2 separate regions of the Homo sapiens genome follow, and region 1 is linked to region 2. Evidence: promoter capture Hi-C in 16 types of primary human blood cells and fetal thymus (Javierre and others, 2016). All regions are on one chromosome and are shown on one strand. The core of a region is centred on a gene start or on the middle of the fragment in contact, and the rest is flanking DNA. Distances in the headings are between cores, read along the strand shown.

Region 1 (7,475 bases), core at 3,209-5,708, 640 kb before region 2:
CAGAAATAGCCATGTTTAACTGTAAGTGAGGAACTTCAAATACCACCTTATTCAAATATTCCATTTCTATCAAACAAAAGATGAATCAAAAATTTAATTTCCTGACAATTTGTGTGCTTTGGCAGGAATGTGGGCAAGCACCAGTTAAGTGCTAAACCTGACAATGGGACATGTGTTTAAAATAAATGTCAGAAAAGAGCTTGTATCCCTGATTATATCCTTTTCATTGGAACTCGGATGAGATTGAACTACCTTAACATCAGAAACTCTAGTATAAAATTTTTAAACTGTTGGTGAGGGTTTGAGTTTGGGCTTATTCATTAAAATTGCCTGGACCTCATGGTCTTCATCTGTAGAATGAGAAGTTTGGACTAACTAGAGTCTATGACTCCTTCAGCTAAAACATACTTTGAGTTATATAATAGTTCATCTGTAAGTGCAGTAGCACATGGAATAAAGGAGTCAGTCAATATTGGCAAGTTTGTTTGTTTATTTATTTATTTAGAGACAGAGTCTTGCTCTGTCACCCAGGCTGGAGTGCAGTGGTATGATCTCAGCTCACTGCAATTTCTGCCTCCCGTGTTCAAGCAATTCTCCTGCCTCAGCCTCCCAAGTAGCTGGGATTACAGGTGCATGCCACCATGCCCAGCTAATTTTTGCATTTTTAATAGAGATGGGGTTTCACCATATTGGTCAGGCTGATCTCAAACTCCTGACCTCAGGTGATCCGCCTACCTTGGCCTTCCCAAAGTGCTGGGATTACAGGCATGAACCACCGTGCCTAGTCACAAGTTTTTTTAAAAAAATAAGATTTGACTTGGCCGGGCGTGGTGGCTCACTCCTGTAATCCCAGCACTTTGAGAGGCTGAGGTGGATGGATCATGAGGTCAGGAGTTCAAGATCAGCCTGGCCAAGATGGTGAAACCCCGTCTTTACTAAAAATACAAAAATTAGCTGGGAGTGGTGGTAGGCGCTTGTAGTTCCAGCTACTGTGGAGGCTGAGGCAGAGAATTGCTTGAACCCGGGAGGCGGAGGTTGCAGTGAGCTGAGATCGTGCAACTGCACTCCAGCCTGGGCGACAGAGTGAGACTGCGTCTCAAAAAAAAAAAAAAAAAAGATTTGACTTATACTTCAAGCAATTTGTCCAAGACGATTTTCACACAAAGGAACAAAACATCCTCAACTCAATAGAATGAGTCCTTCTATTCTCAGTTGAGACTTATCAATCAGCAGATCAGTCAAGGAGCAACGAGGCAGTAGAGAGGAGAAGAATCATTGATTTGTCACTGGAAAGTCAACAGATTTAAGAAAAGCACGCCATAAAAAGACTAGTCGCTTTAAAATAGAGAAAAATTGTGTATATATTCACATCACTAAGTCACTAAGTAAGAAAGAAACCCCATAGAATTATGGGTAATTGGAACTGATTTCTAAAACCATCAACTCACCAATTGAATTTATTGGATGTGAAACTTTGTGATCATGTTTTTTTTTTAAAAAAAAATCCTATAACACTTATGGAAAAAAGTGGAAATTTAGAAATATATTTCTACCTAGAGGTATTCTTTATTGGTACTAATATAAGCTGGGAGGAAAGGAGCTTCTTGAAGGGCAAAAGAGAAAAAAAAAATCCCCTTCCTCTGTGGTTGTACAAAGCAAAGGAACCTCAAAGGGAGACTTGAGGCCGGGCACGGTGGCTCACACCTGTAATCCCAGCACTTTGGGAAGCTGAGGCAGGTGGATTACTTAAGGTAAGAAGTTTGAGACCAGCCTAGACAACATGATGAAACCTCATCTCCACTAAAATACAAAAATTAGCTGGGTGTGGTGGCGGGCGCCTGTAATCCCAGCTACTCAGGAGGCTGAGTCAGGAGAATTGCTTAAATCCAGGAGGCGGAGGTCACAGTGAGCCGAGAGCATGTCACTGCACTCCAGCCTGGGTTACACAGCAAGACTCCATCTAAAAAAAAAAAAAAAAAAAAAAAAAAAAAAAAAGTAGAGAGACTTGAAAACACTACTCTCCTGAGAGAAGGGAATGAAAAGAGCCCTTCGATCAGATGAGGAAAAAGCCTAAACTTACAGTCTTGGCTATGCCCTCAGTCCCACCCTGAGTCTCAAGAACTGGTTATTCACCATCCACTACTGACAGACCACACCACAAAAGTGCCCACTGCCACTGCCCCTCTCCACCACCCCACGCCACACCTGACCACTCCAGTGGGGAGTATCCAGGCTCACTATGTCTAAGCCCTTTGTTCATACTCCACGGTGCTCGGTTTGTTTGCTTTAAAATAAAGACATTGCCATGGAATTTCAACTCCTAATTTATTCATTATTTCACTATCTTCCAATTCTACCAAAGGGGAATTAGAATTTGTATCCATTTTGTGTTTGCAAATATTTAAAAAGAAAACAAAAAAACAAATAGGTTGATCGTGGGGAAGGGACCCCCAGGGAGCACCACAAATCCTTTCAGAGGCACGCTCGGCCGTTCCACACTCTTGTCTCTTACGGACATACCAGAAATACTTTATTTAGTTTAAGTGAATGGAAAGATCCAGCACTTGGAAAGAATTGTTACTAGCCTTGTTTGTTCCAATAAACAACCAAGCTTCTTATTGCTCAATAAAAATCAAAACTGACAGTTTGTAAAAACCAGAAAACAGAAAATCTTGGACTATGTTTAAGGGATGATTGATATTTCCAGACTTTCATGAGGATCCTAAGGGAGAAGTCTATTTAGGTTTCAACAATGTCAGTGACAAATACTTCTCTGGAAAGCTTGCTACACATTGGCCAAAAGTTTTTCCAATTCCAATTCCAATTTGTATCTATTGAAAGATTTTGGGCTCATGGAAGAGCATTAGCTGGGGAAGTAAGCTTACATCATTGTAGTTCAAACATTCATTATATATAACTCTATAATTAATAATGAGTTCAGGTAAAATGGGAGGAATCTGCAATTTAATAGTAATTTCAATTCTGTTAATCCTGGGTCTGGGGCATATTTTAAAGATATACTTGACTTAGATACACTAGCTATGTCTGTCCAGGCCAAATAGAAAGAGATTTGAACTAAGCAACTAAGCAATTTCTTCTTGGACAATGCAAGCAAGAAATTACTCTTAGAAGAGGAGCTCTTTGAGAAGATACTGGACTATGGATGAATAAGATACATGGATAACAAATGAGGGCTTGGATCGGACAAAATGCCAAAATAGTCCCCCAGGATTTCCTGCCCTAATCCCTGGAACTGTGAGTATGAGTTATTATACCCATGCTCATGTTATGCTATTGGTACAAATCACAGGCTCTTTGGTTCCCCATGTAATAAAAAGTAACACTGAGCCACGCAGATGTCCTAGACAAGCCTTTTATTTCAGGGCTTGTGCTTGAGTGCAAGGGAAACAGCAGAGACTCAAGGACTCTCCAGCTGACTCCCCAAAAAAGCTGGTAGGGATATTTTTATTAGGCAAAGCATGGGAATGGGTGTCAAGGGTAATGTGTGCAGGCTGGAGTAGGCAAAGCACCTGAGGGGTGGGGTATGCGGTCAGCGTATCTGATTACATTGATCATCTTGAGTCATGGGCCACCTGGCGGGTCTGGCCAACAGCAACAAGGCTGCAAATGATTGCTGAGCATTCCTTCCCAAGGTGGGACACTCTTAACCTTGGTTTGATATTTGGATTTCCAAAGGCCAGTTCCTGGAATTCTTTAAGTAAAAGGCATGGTTAAACATCATGAGAGCACAGAAGAATGGCTATTTGCTTGGTATGACTAAAGCCTTGGGGTTAGCAAGTAGATTGCCAGCAAGGTAACGGTGTGAATTTTGTGATCACTGGGACGAGAGAAAAAAAGAGAAGAAAACATATGTGAAGGAGGAGTTGCATCCCATTCCTATTCTATCTCAATTCCCCGCTGAGAGATTTCACCTTTCCCCTCCTTATTCTTAAAGAGAAAGAACCAAAGATCTCATCTTCTGAAGCTACTTCCTGCTGAACAGGGTTGTCTTCCATGCCTAATCTTGGAGGGTGTGGAAGTCTCTCACTGACTGTTCTATAGACCTGCAGGGACAGAGATCCTTCTGGAATGATATGGGTTGAAATCCTTGGGCCATCATTAGCTTGACTTGAAACTATTGAAGCCTGAAAGATACAAACTTTACCAAAAGGTTAAAAATACAAGGCCCGAAAAGTAATAGCAATAAAATGACCACCTAGGGTCCAAGGAAAGGTAAAAATTCTGTCACTCATAGTAAGTATCCTTTGATGAAGTCCCAGATGGTCTGAGAAGTGGGGTTTTTGAAATTGTGCATCCAGGTAGCCTGTTGGTAAATCTTTTGAACTTGCAGTTCAACTAACCCTGAATTGTTAGCATAAGAACAACAGGTGTGGTTTATTCTGTGCATTCTCCCCCTTGTTCAGCTAGAAGATAGTCCAGGGCCAATCTCTGGTCTAAGACAACATTGACTAGGGAGTCTAGGGAAGCCTGAAGTTCTTTTAAATTTTCCCTCGTACTGGTTGACAGTGTTTGAAGGGTTTCTGTTAACTTCCTCAAAGTTGCCTCACAGTATGCAAAGCCACCCCCAAGTGTCTGCTAAACGGATAGCTATTCCAACTCATGCCAAAATTAGCTGTAAACCTGTCAGCCTTTTAGATTTTGGATGTGTGCTGTTATGAACTGTTATTCCATTGGGGCTCAAAGTACCTAAGGGTGCAGTGTGTTATACATTATAGACACAAGGGCATGCTGGTATGAGTAATGGACATGTGAAATTGGTTAGTGGATAGCTGTTGGCCAAATGGTCTTGGTGTCCACAAAAGGACACATATCCTAGGGGTGTGCAATTTACATGGGGCAAGAGGAATGCAGGTGACTGACTGAGCTTTGCAGAGAGGTATGACTGTTTTGGGCATTGGGAGAGAAAGACGAACTCCCCTAGTCCACGTTTGATTAGGGCTTTTTTTAAAAAAAAAACTGATGAGGGAAAAGCCTGTGAGATGTCAAAGTAGGCATTTCAACTTCCCCTTTTCCCACCCTTTCGATGACTGAAGCATTTAGCAGGCCAGTGAGGTTTATACATTCACAGGAAATGAGGCACTTAGGTGTACCATGAGAGGTGCAGGGGTTACTTTAGGTTCCCATACCTCCTTTGTGAAACTGGTAGTCGAGCTTTTAGGGAATGAAAGAGGCAGCCCCTGAGCCTGCTGATGATGGTGGCATATCCAGCAGTTGGACAAATTATTACCCAAAGCTGCAATGCCAGAAAGGTAGATGAGAGAGTTTGTTTCCCTTTTCAAGAGGGCCCAGCCCACCACGTCCCCCTACATGGAGGAGTAGGAACAAAGTAAAGAGGAGCATAACTATATGCAGCAGGGATAAAAGAGGTGTTTACCAGGGGAGGAGGCTGAGCAAAGCAACAGAATAATTGTAAAACAATTCATATTGTAAGGAGAATTACTGGACTCAAGATCTCTAACCACATTACTCCAGGGATGAACTGGCTCTCTTGAACAGGTATTTGAGATCATCCATAGGTTCACATGAGTAAGATGGGCTTTCTGGGCATGTCTAGAAACATTTAGGAGAAAAGATGTTTTAATCAGGTGAGGTGTACCCAGCTAGGGATACAAGGAATCCTCAGTTAGGGTACACCTCTGTACCTTACTGGGTGTTTGGATCACCAAGTAAAGTGCCTTCCATTTAGCCAATGGTTGTTCCTCCAGGAAGTCCTCCTTCCCAGTCTTAAGGAGGACTTGGTTTCCTGGATTAATCCATAAAGGGGTTTCCCCATCTTTAGTGGAGACTGGCAGGATTTTGTTCCCATATTCTGAAATTGCCTTTTGAACCTGTCCTAAATTAATTATATATTATAATTTTTAATTTAATTGTCCATCTAACAGGAGGTCAGTGGTGAGGAAACTCCTCTCATAGATCATCTCAGAAGAGTTAAGTCTTAGGCTGCCCCAAGGGGCCATGCAGACTCTAAGAAGTGCAACTGGGAGCATCGTAACCCAGGGCTGTAGGTCTCTTGACAAAGCTTTTCTAGAATCAGCTTAGGAATATAGTTCATCTTTTCAACTTTACCTGATGATTGGGGGTGCCAGGATGGCACTGTCTTTAATCTATTCCTACGATGTGAAGAGGCTCTGGGTAATCTTAGCCACAAAGGAGGGCGAATTATTGCTATGAAGGGATTTGGGGAGTCCAAATCAAGAAATTATTAATATTTATTTTGGTAAAGATTTATAGATTTCTACTGCTCCTTCTGTATGAATAGGAAAAGCCTTGAGTGACCCAATAAAAGTATTCACAAACACCAGGAGATATTTGTATCCTAGATTTGGGGGCATTTGAGTAAATCTACCTGCCAGTCTTCTCCTGGATAAGTTCCCCTGTGTTGAACCAGCTTAAGTCAAGAGGGAGGAACTGGATAGGTTTGGGGATTATTCTGGGAACACAGTTCATAGGCAAAGGTTACTTATTTTAGTTTTTCTCAATCCCTTTTCAATTAATATTTTATATACAATATTCCATAAAACATCTGTCCCATAATGAATGGCATCATGGAGATGCTTAATAAGTTTCTACTGGTCAGTTCCCGGAATAAAAATCTTATCACCATCTGGGAACCATCCATCATTGTTTTCCTCCTCTAGCTCTTCTTGTGAGTATCGTGGGTGATTCAGAAGGTTGGTGGGGTCTATCATTAAGGACAACACATTGCTGGGTTCCTGTAACCAGGCTGCTTTGTGGCCCTATCATCCCTATTATTTCCTTGGCTAATGAGGGACCTGTCTCTCTGGTGGCCCTTGCAGCGAATGTCTGCTATGTGGCAGGGAAGTTGTACCACTTCCAGGAGAAGTAGGACTGGGTCCTTATGTTTGATTGGGGAATTTTTAGCTGTTAACATTCCCCTTTCTTTCCATATGTCTGCATGGCCACACAGTGCAAGAAACCCATACTTTGAGTCAGTGTATACACGTACTCGCTCCCCTTCTCCCAGTTGTAAGGCTCTGATGAAGGCCATCAGTTCTGCTTTTTGTGCTGAGGTTTGGGGAGGAAGGGTTTTAGCTTCTGTAGTCTCATTCAGGCTTACTACTGTATATCCTGCCATTCAGGTTCCTTCCTCCACAAAGCTACTGCCATCAGTATGCCATTCTGCCTCCAGGTTCTCAAAAGGCTGATCTCATAAGTCAGGCCTGCTGGAGAATGTCTGTTTTATGGTCTCTCTGCACCGTCATAAGCCCTCATCATCTGTGGTTGGGACTAAAGTTGCTGGCTTCAGGGTCTGACATATACTCAAAGTAATGTCTGGGGTGTCTAATAAGAGAGGTTGGTGTTTGGTCAGTCTCCCCCCCACCAAGTGAGACAATTGTGTCTCTTGACTTCTAACACAGTCTGAACCTGGTAGGATGTCATAACTTATATATGTTAACCCAGAATCAGCTTAGAGGCTTCACTAACCAGTAGGG
Region 2 (6,891 bases), core at 4,184-6,683:
AAGAAATATAAAACAAGAAGTCAGGTAAGAAGCATTCATTGAAAACATATCATCTTTAACACTATTGGTTTCTAGATTAGCAAGAGAAATAGTAAAGGAAAAAATAGCCTACAAGTTTAAAAAAAAGCTGTAGGAATAACATTTGATTAATGGAATAACTTTTTGAAAGATGGAAGAGAAGACAATACTCTTTACCATGTTCCGGTCTCCTTCCACTCCCTTTTCCTCACCATAAAGAAGCACTTGTCTGATGAAGTCAGATTGTAGGACACCCATGGTGCCCAAGTTTATTAATCTCACCAAGGTAAAATCTTCAAATATCCCTCCTAACACATTTCAAGAACCTATGCAACCTGAAAGAAGGCAACTGCTGCACAGAAACCTTCAAGACAGTCCATTGTAACTCCTCTGAACCACACTGTACCCTAAGCCGCCTCATATAGAAATTCCTGGGCCACCAGCAGGGTTGGGATATGTGTTTAAAGCCCCTGCTCGTGGGTACATGTTTTATGGCATTATTTATTTGTTTGTTTATGTTTTTCATCAGTTGAAGTGGAAAGCCAATCCATAACCTGGTAAGCATTCTTCTCTTTCTCTCTCTCTCCCTCTCTCTCTTGCATTTCGTTCTCTTTTCTTCTTAACCATGATGTTCAGGTAGTCTTTTGTTGGTTGAAAGGTGACAAGATGTCAATTTGTGGATTTAGTAGGAGAGAGGGAGGGGCAGTTTGGGGCCTGTAGGCTAAGCCATGTGCTACAGCTCAGTTTCCTTGGAGGTACTTCACTGGGTTGGGGATGGAATGTCTCAGACACAGGATGGTACCATGCTTTCCATTTAGCATAATTCATATGTATTTCTCCCTAATGGACACTGCATGTGGAAGAATAATTCTCATTTGTGCTAAGTTTTAGATAAGCCAATGTCCTTAGCTACAGATAGCTCTAACTCCTAAGACCATAACTGGACAAATCAATCTTGATATGGCTTAAACAATGACTAATTCTACTGTCGGTAGTAAAACCAAGATAATCTGATGGGACAGACATTCCCTTATTACTTCATTCATGCTGTGATTCCACATCTCTCTATTTATTGATCATGGATTTTCAGAAGGATGGCTAGAGGTTGCCTTTATAACATTTCTGTGTGCAACCAATGCCTGACCCACTTGCTTCCCCAGTGACCACCATGGCTTCTATTGTCCTTCCCTGAAGACACTCTAGGTAGGGCGAGACAATGATGGCTAGGCAGCTGCTACATAAGAAAGTTCTGCCCCGATCTGTCATCATTGCCACCACTGAAATAGATGCAGCATCAAGAATGGTCAAGGTGAGACTAAATGGGAAACCACTTTCAGAAGTCAAGAATATTTTCTCTCTCTCTAGATTTTTTTAGTCTCTCTAATATGTTAAATATGAAATATGCTATTCCCTGTGGCAATAAAAATATGAGCATAAGGCTTTTCTTTAAGGGGCTCACATCCTAACAGAAGAGACAGAATGCACAAAAATAAAACAGCAAGGAAAGTGAGACTGCAATATGGAACTGGGGATTCCAAACAGGAATCTGAATATTATGGTTGGATAAGGTCTGAAGTCGTGATGACATGTTGTTATTAGATGTAAGGTGAATGGAGCGGAAATAGAATCCCCTTTCCTTGAGGGGAATGTTCTCATACAATTCTGTGAATTTCAGTTCTTTGCTCCTAATATATTTAAAATTACCTACTTGGAATAACCACTTTCTCTGCATCTGCTCTAGCAGCCATGGTCACTACAGTATCTTCATTTCGTGTACTTCAAGCTTGTTTCCTCCAAATCTCCAGCCCCACTCTCACTCTCTGCTCCCTCCTGTATTCATCCTAAATATACTTGCTTAAGCCTACAGTTTTAAACCATAACACTTCCCCAATTGATACAATAACAATCCAGCTAGAGCTGGTGGGGCTCCAAATCTCACTGGATGTGGAATGGAGCTTAGAGGTGGCTTGGGTAAGGCCTGGCCTCTGAGGGAATCTTGTTTTTACTTGAACAAAAGGAAGCAACTTGAATAGAGGAAGACTTGGAGAATAGAAAAACTGAGTAAGAGACAGTCTCTGCACTTAAAGGAGCTGAAGTCCAATATGGTACCATGGCATATAGGGGAGGGTGCTGTTATATGGCTCGTTCATGAATTATACACACCCTAACACTGTAAACCACTCCAGGAGAAGGTATGAACCTGAAGAAGGAGGAGCCAGGATCTGAGATGGCACTTGGAGGAGAAATAGGATAAACTGGGAAGGGCAGCCACCACAGAAGATGGGGTGTGCTCATAGCTCTCTTTTTCATATCTCTAGTCCCTGGGATTTTTCAGATTCATGAAATGAAAGAATGGACAGGAAACGTAGCAATGAAAAAAACATAACTGTGTCCCTCTACTGCTATAGACTATGATTGTTAGATTAGTGTATATTTAAATCCTCACATTCACTTTTGCTTCAAAATAGAGGAATTGCAGTGGAATTAAAATTTCAGCTTTAGTACCACTTCTTATGTGTAAACTTTAACTTCACTATTATCCTTTAAGGTAGTGTTTTCAGATGAATGTTGAAAGTGTTTCTTGGGTCTTATAATCAGTGTAAAACATTTAGATTTGAGTTAAGGAGTACCTTTGCATATGACTTCTGCCCATGAGCATTTGAAGACCCTGTAAATCCTAAGATAGTTTACTGGTAATCCTCAACCTAATATATTCTTTTGCTTTATTTTAAATTACACACAGATTAGAAAGTACAGTACAAATTTTATTGCTCAGTGGCCAAATCTGTAGGATTATTTTGGAGCAAAACATTTTACTCTTCAAGAAGTGGCTGTGGAAGGCTAGTTTATTGCATGACATCCTCTGGGGTTTGGTAGGTGCCTCCCTTCCTGCTTAAAATGTACCAGCATCACAGATACCTTTATTTTAGTTATTTACAAATATTGCCAGAAAACACTTCTGCTATGAATTTGGTTTTGAAGTTTAAAATCCTTGATAATCAACATTTGTACTCCAGTTCAAAAAATCAGCAATAAGTAAACAGCAAGTCATTTTCATGTGAAATGAGAAAGAATTCGATGTCAGTCCTGTACTTCTCTAGAAACAGGAAGCTAAATCTCTCAGTACAATATTACCTTTTCTGGACACTTCAGCAGACCCTGAATCCTTGTTTAAAGGGGGCATAAATCCCCATTCTCTGTTTTATTAATATTGTTTAGGGATAATTTGGTAACAGGAAATTTAGCTTGACATGGCAACTTAGGTTTTCCAGGACACTTTCATCCCTATAGCTGCCTTTTCCCACCCACCCCAAACCGAATTGCCTGTGTGAAATATCAGGCTGTTTGCTAAGGGAGATGAATCTTTCTGTGTCTGAGAAGTACACATAGTTTTCTAACTCAGCATCTCTCTTTTTTCAGCACCTGTTTTTCTCTCTAGAGGAGCTTCATTTCTACTTCTGCACAGGGAGGATGAACAAACCTTTAATTAAATTACTTGAAATTTCAGTGATGATATTTTTAAAAATGATTATACATCTATTCTTTAAATATTTTCCCTTAACTGCTAGAATGAACTCTCTACATTTCAATGGTGGATAATATAATATAATAAAGCATTTATTAGAATATGTTTAATGAGGCTCTGATTTCTATGTTACGAAAGCACGCAAAGTGTCCAATGCTTATGAATAACACGAAGGAGACATTGTTAAGCTTTTAATAAGGACTTTTCTTTTTGTAAATCCACAGTGCCTACAACCTATAACATAGATTCATATTTTATGGCCAAAAAAGTAGCATGACATTGGAAATAATACAGAGACTGGGCATTTTTTCTCATTAAAAATCATAGGCTTAAATTTACACAATGGATATTCTCAACCAGTACCCTACACGGAAGAGAAAGCTGTTGCAGAAGTACAATATTCAGGTAGGGTAAGAGTGAAAAAGTCTCTTATGCATGTTCCTATATTGCGTGCTCTGTCCCCATTTAATATCTGCTAGACAAGTCACAAAGGCCTCCCAGGGGATAGCAACAGATGATCTCTTTGAAGGTTTTCCTCAGTTCTTGACTCCGGAGTGCATAAATCAGAGGATCGATGATTGAATTACACATGATCAGTATGAGATACAAGTTAAAGTGAGACATGAAGCACACACAATATGGATTCTGAGGACAAGAGATGTAGAATATTAAGTGGAGGAAGAATGGGGCCCAGCAGACAACAAAGACGCCAATCAGGATGGTCAAGGTAATCGCTCCCTTCATATTGGCACCTTGGCGGATGGCACCAGTGCCGGGGAGGACAGCAATCCTCTTAATGTGAAGCCTGGCCATCAGGAACATGTGGACATAGAGAGAAGCCATGAGAGCCAGCATGGTGAAGAACATGGTGATGAGGCAGATGATGACAGCACTACTATCTGAGTAAATGATGAACAAAATGCCTGAAACCGTGCAAGCTGCCCAGATACAACTTATGATGATCCCAACCCGCTTAACTGTCATAATGTTATGGTACTGGAGAGCATAGAAGATAGTAAAGTACCTGTCCACTGCAATTGAAAGCAGGCTGCAAATGGATGCAAGCAAGGAGCTACAGATCACCGAGTCAATGACATTATCAATATTCACTGTGAAACTCTGTGCATCCGTATCTGTACTGTTTAATAGGGTGATGACAATGGTTTCTGATCCATTTGAAACGCTCACCAGCATATCAGCCACAGCCAAGCTGCAGATGAAAAAGTACATGGGTGAATGCAGATTCTTGTTCTTGGCTATTGCCACAATCACTAAGATATTCTCCAACAAGCTGATGACACCCAGAGTCACAAACACCTCAGGAGAGACAAAAAGTTGCTCGTAGCACCCTCCATCAGAGTAGCCTTTTCCAAGGGACTCACTGGCATTGCTGTGCAGTCTGTAACTGCTGCGGTTCCAGAGGTGCAGAGAAGTGTGCATCCCACGGTGGGTGGAGTTCACCATGCTGGCAGGAGAATTCCAGTGTCCCCCTGAATTGATTTAACCTCCTGGGTCAGGGAGTCGTCTCAGTTATTTCCTCCAAGTCTTTATCTGTCTGAAAGTTGTGAGGCTAAAATTGCCATGCCTGCTGTGAGTAAATGTCACAAGTCCAGAGCTTGACATGGAGTTTTTAGTCTCTTTTAGGTACGACTCTAATCATCATCACTTTAAAATCTTGGGCTTCAAAATATTCATTCTCAGTTGAAAGAGTCTGCTCTTTGCTTTCTTGTTCTCACTTCTGCTTTAACTTTAATCTTATGCATTCAAGTCTGTTCAAAATAATTTTCCTTGAAGCTGCCATGCCATTGGGAGACGAATCTGTGCGCACATGCTCACATCGGCTGCCTCTCGGAAGCTTCTGTTTCCAGCCTGAGCGTTGCTTTGAGTGTTAGGGGCTGTAGGCGCCAGCTGCTGATTTTTATGATGTGTGGAGAGAAAAAAAACATGTTCACGGTGGCTCCTCCTCTGCTTCCTTCTGACCAATCCCAATGCAATGGGAGTCTGTGAGACAGGATTATGTTTCAGAGACACAAATTGCAGGGTGACACAGATTCAGATGCAGAAGCTCCTGAAGTCTGAAGTCGAGAAGCAAGCCGGATAAGAGACTGAATTTCCCTTTTTAAGTTTTCAAGGGAAACAACTTGATCCCTAGAGGCCATTCTGTGATATCAAAACAAGCTATCTTCAGGCAGCCAGGTTCATTCTTATGTAAAAGACATCATGTGTGTGTGTAAAATGAAATGGAAAGTATACTGTCTTATGTTCCTGAAACAGATACTCTGCTTTTTGGCTAGGATACTGAATTTATTTACCTTCTTAATTTTTTGTTTTTATTAAGAACCCAGCCAGTAGTGGTTCAGTTAAAATACCTGAAAAACAGAGAGGATATTTAATGATACAGATAGACATGGTATGGCTGGAAGAACTATGTAGGTAGCTATAAATTATGAATGGGTTCAAAAGGGGTTGATTTTAATGCACTAATATCCCATATTTCTCTATTGAGGAGTTTGTGTTATAGCTGAAAAAAGGTGCTTTTTATTTACAATATTTTAAACTCATACGGCATTAATGTAACTATGCTTACACTGAACTCAGGAAAATAATAAGCTGCATTCTGTTTTTTTTTTTTAAGCAACTTTTTTTTAAACCTCCAGAGTTTAACGTATCGTAAGTTGAACCGACAAATACCTAGTAACTTTACTTATCAAGCCAAGACTGGTGATACTAGTTAGTTATTGAAGTTTCTGAATATTTTGCTTAAGGTGGTTTGAAAGATGGCAGCAAAGTTACTTTCCAAATTAACTGAACAACAGATTATACAAAATTTTGTATATTCTTTTCTTCTATGATTATTTTTGGTTTTAGTGCTCTATAGTTTGTAGCTGCTTATTTCAGGGTTAATTCTGAATCTCAGTTACTTAGGTTGGGAATGTATCCTCTTTCCTTTTGTGACAGAGACAATACTAAGTATTGTTCCTGAGCATTGAGATAAATTAACGTCTTCCATCCACCTTTGGAATTGGGTAGGACCTTATGACTAAATTCTAGCTAATGGCATGTTGACAGTGGGGCTCATCGCATTAGCTCTTTCATAATTTTACACAAGTTTTCTCTCCTGTCTTTGAAATCTCATGTTACAGGTGGCAGGACCATATCATGAAAGGAGCCTGTCTCTTGAATGATTGCACAGAGCAGAACTCACACCTCCAACTCCCTTCCCCTGTATTTCTGAATGCCTAATCATCTGTATATTGTAAAATGCTGGAATGGGCTTTCCTGAACATCATGAGCTGGAAATAATCTTACCTTCCTCTTGCCTTATTTTTTCTCTTTTTAAAAATTGA

Evidence for each region. The method cuts DNA at HindIII sites, captures the fragments that hold promoters and counts their contacts. A CHiCAGO score of 5 or more calls a contact.
Region 1: a fragment that was not itself captured here is called in contact with the fragment with the promoter of MC4R in region 2 in 1 of 17 cell types (naive B cells); the score reaches 5.2 in naive B cells.

What each region holds. Positions count from the first base shown.
Region 1 is chr18:59,726,383-59,733,857 of GRCh38, forward strand. No RefSeq gene overlaps it. Among named protein-coding and RNA genes, the nearest start is that of CCBE1, 33 kb to the left of the region's middle. The HindIII fragment of the contact is 3,160 bases long and covers 2,879-6,038 here.
Region 2 is chr18:60,367,342-60,374,232 of GRCh38, forward strand. MC4R (melanocortin 4 receptor) reads right to left here and starts at 5,434. Exons shown (of 1, transcript NM_005912.3): 1 at 3,721-5,434. The coding sequence starts at 5,008. The coding sequence ends at 4,010. The HindIII fragment of the contact is 4,351 bases long and covers 5,398-6,891 here.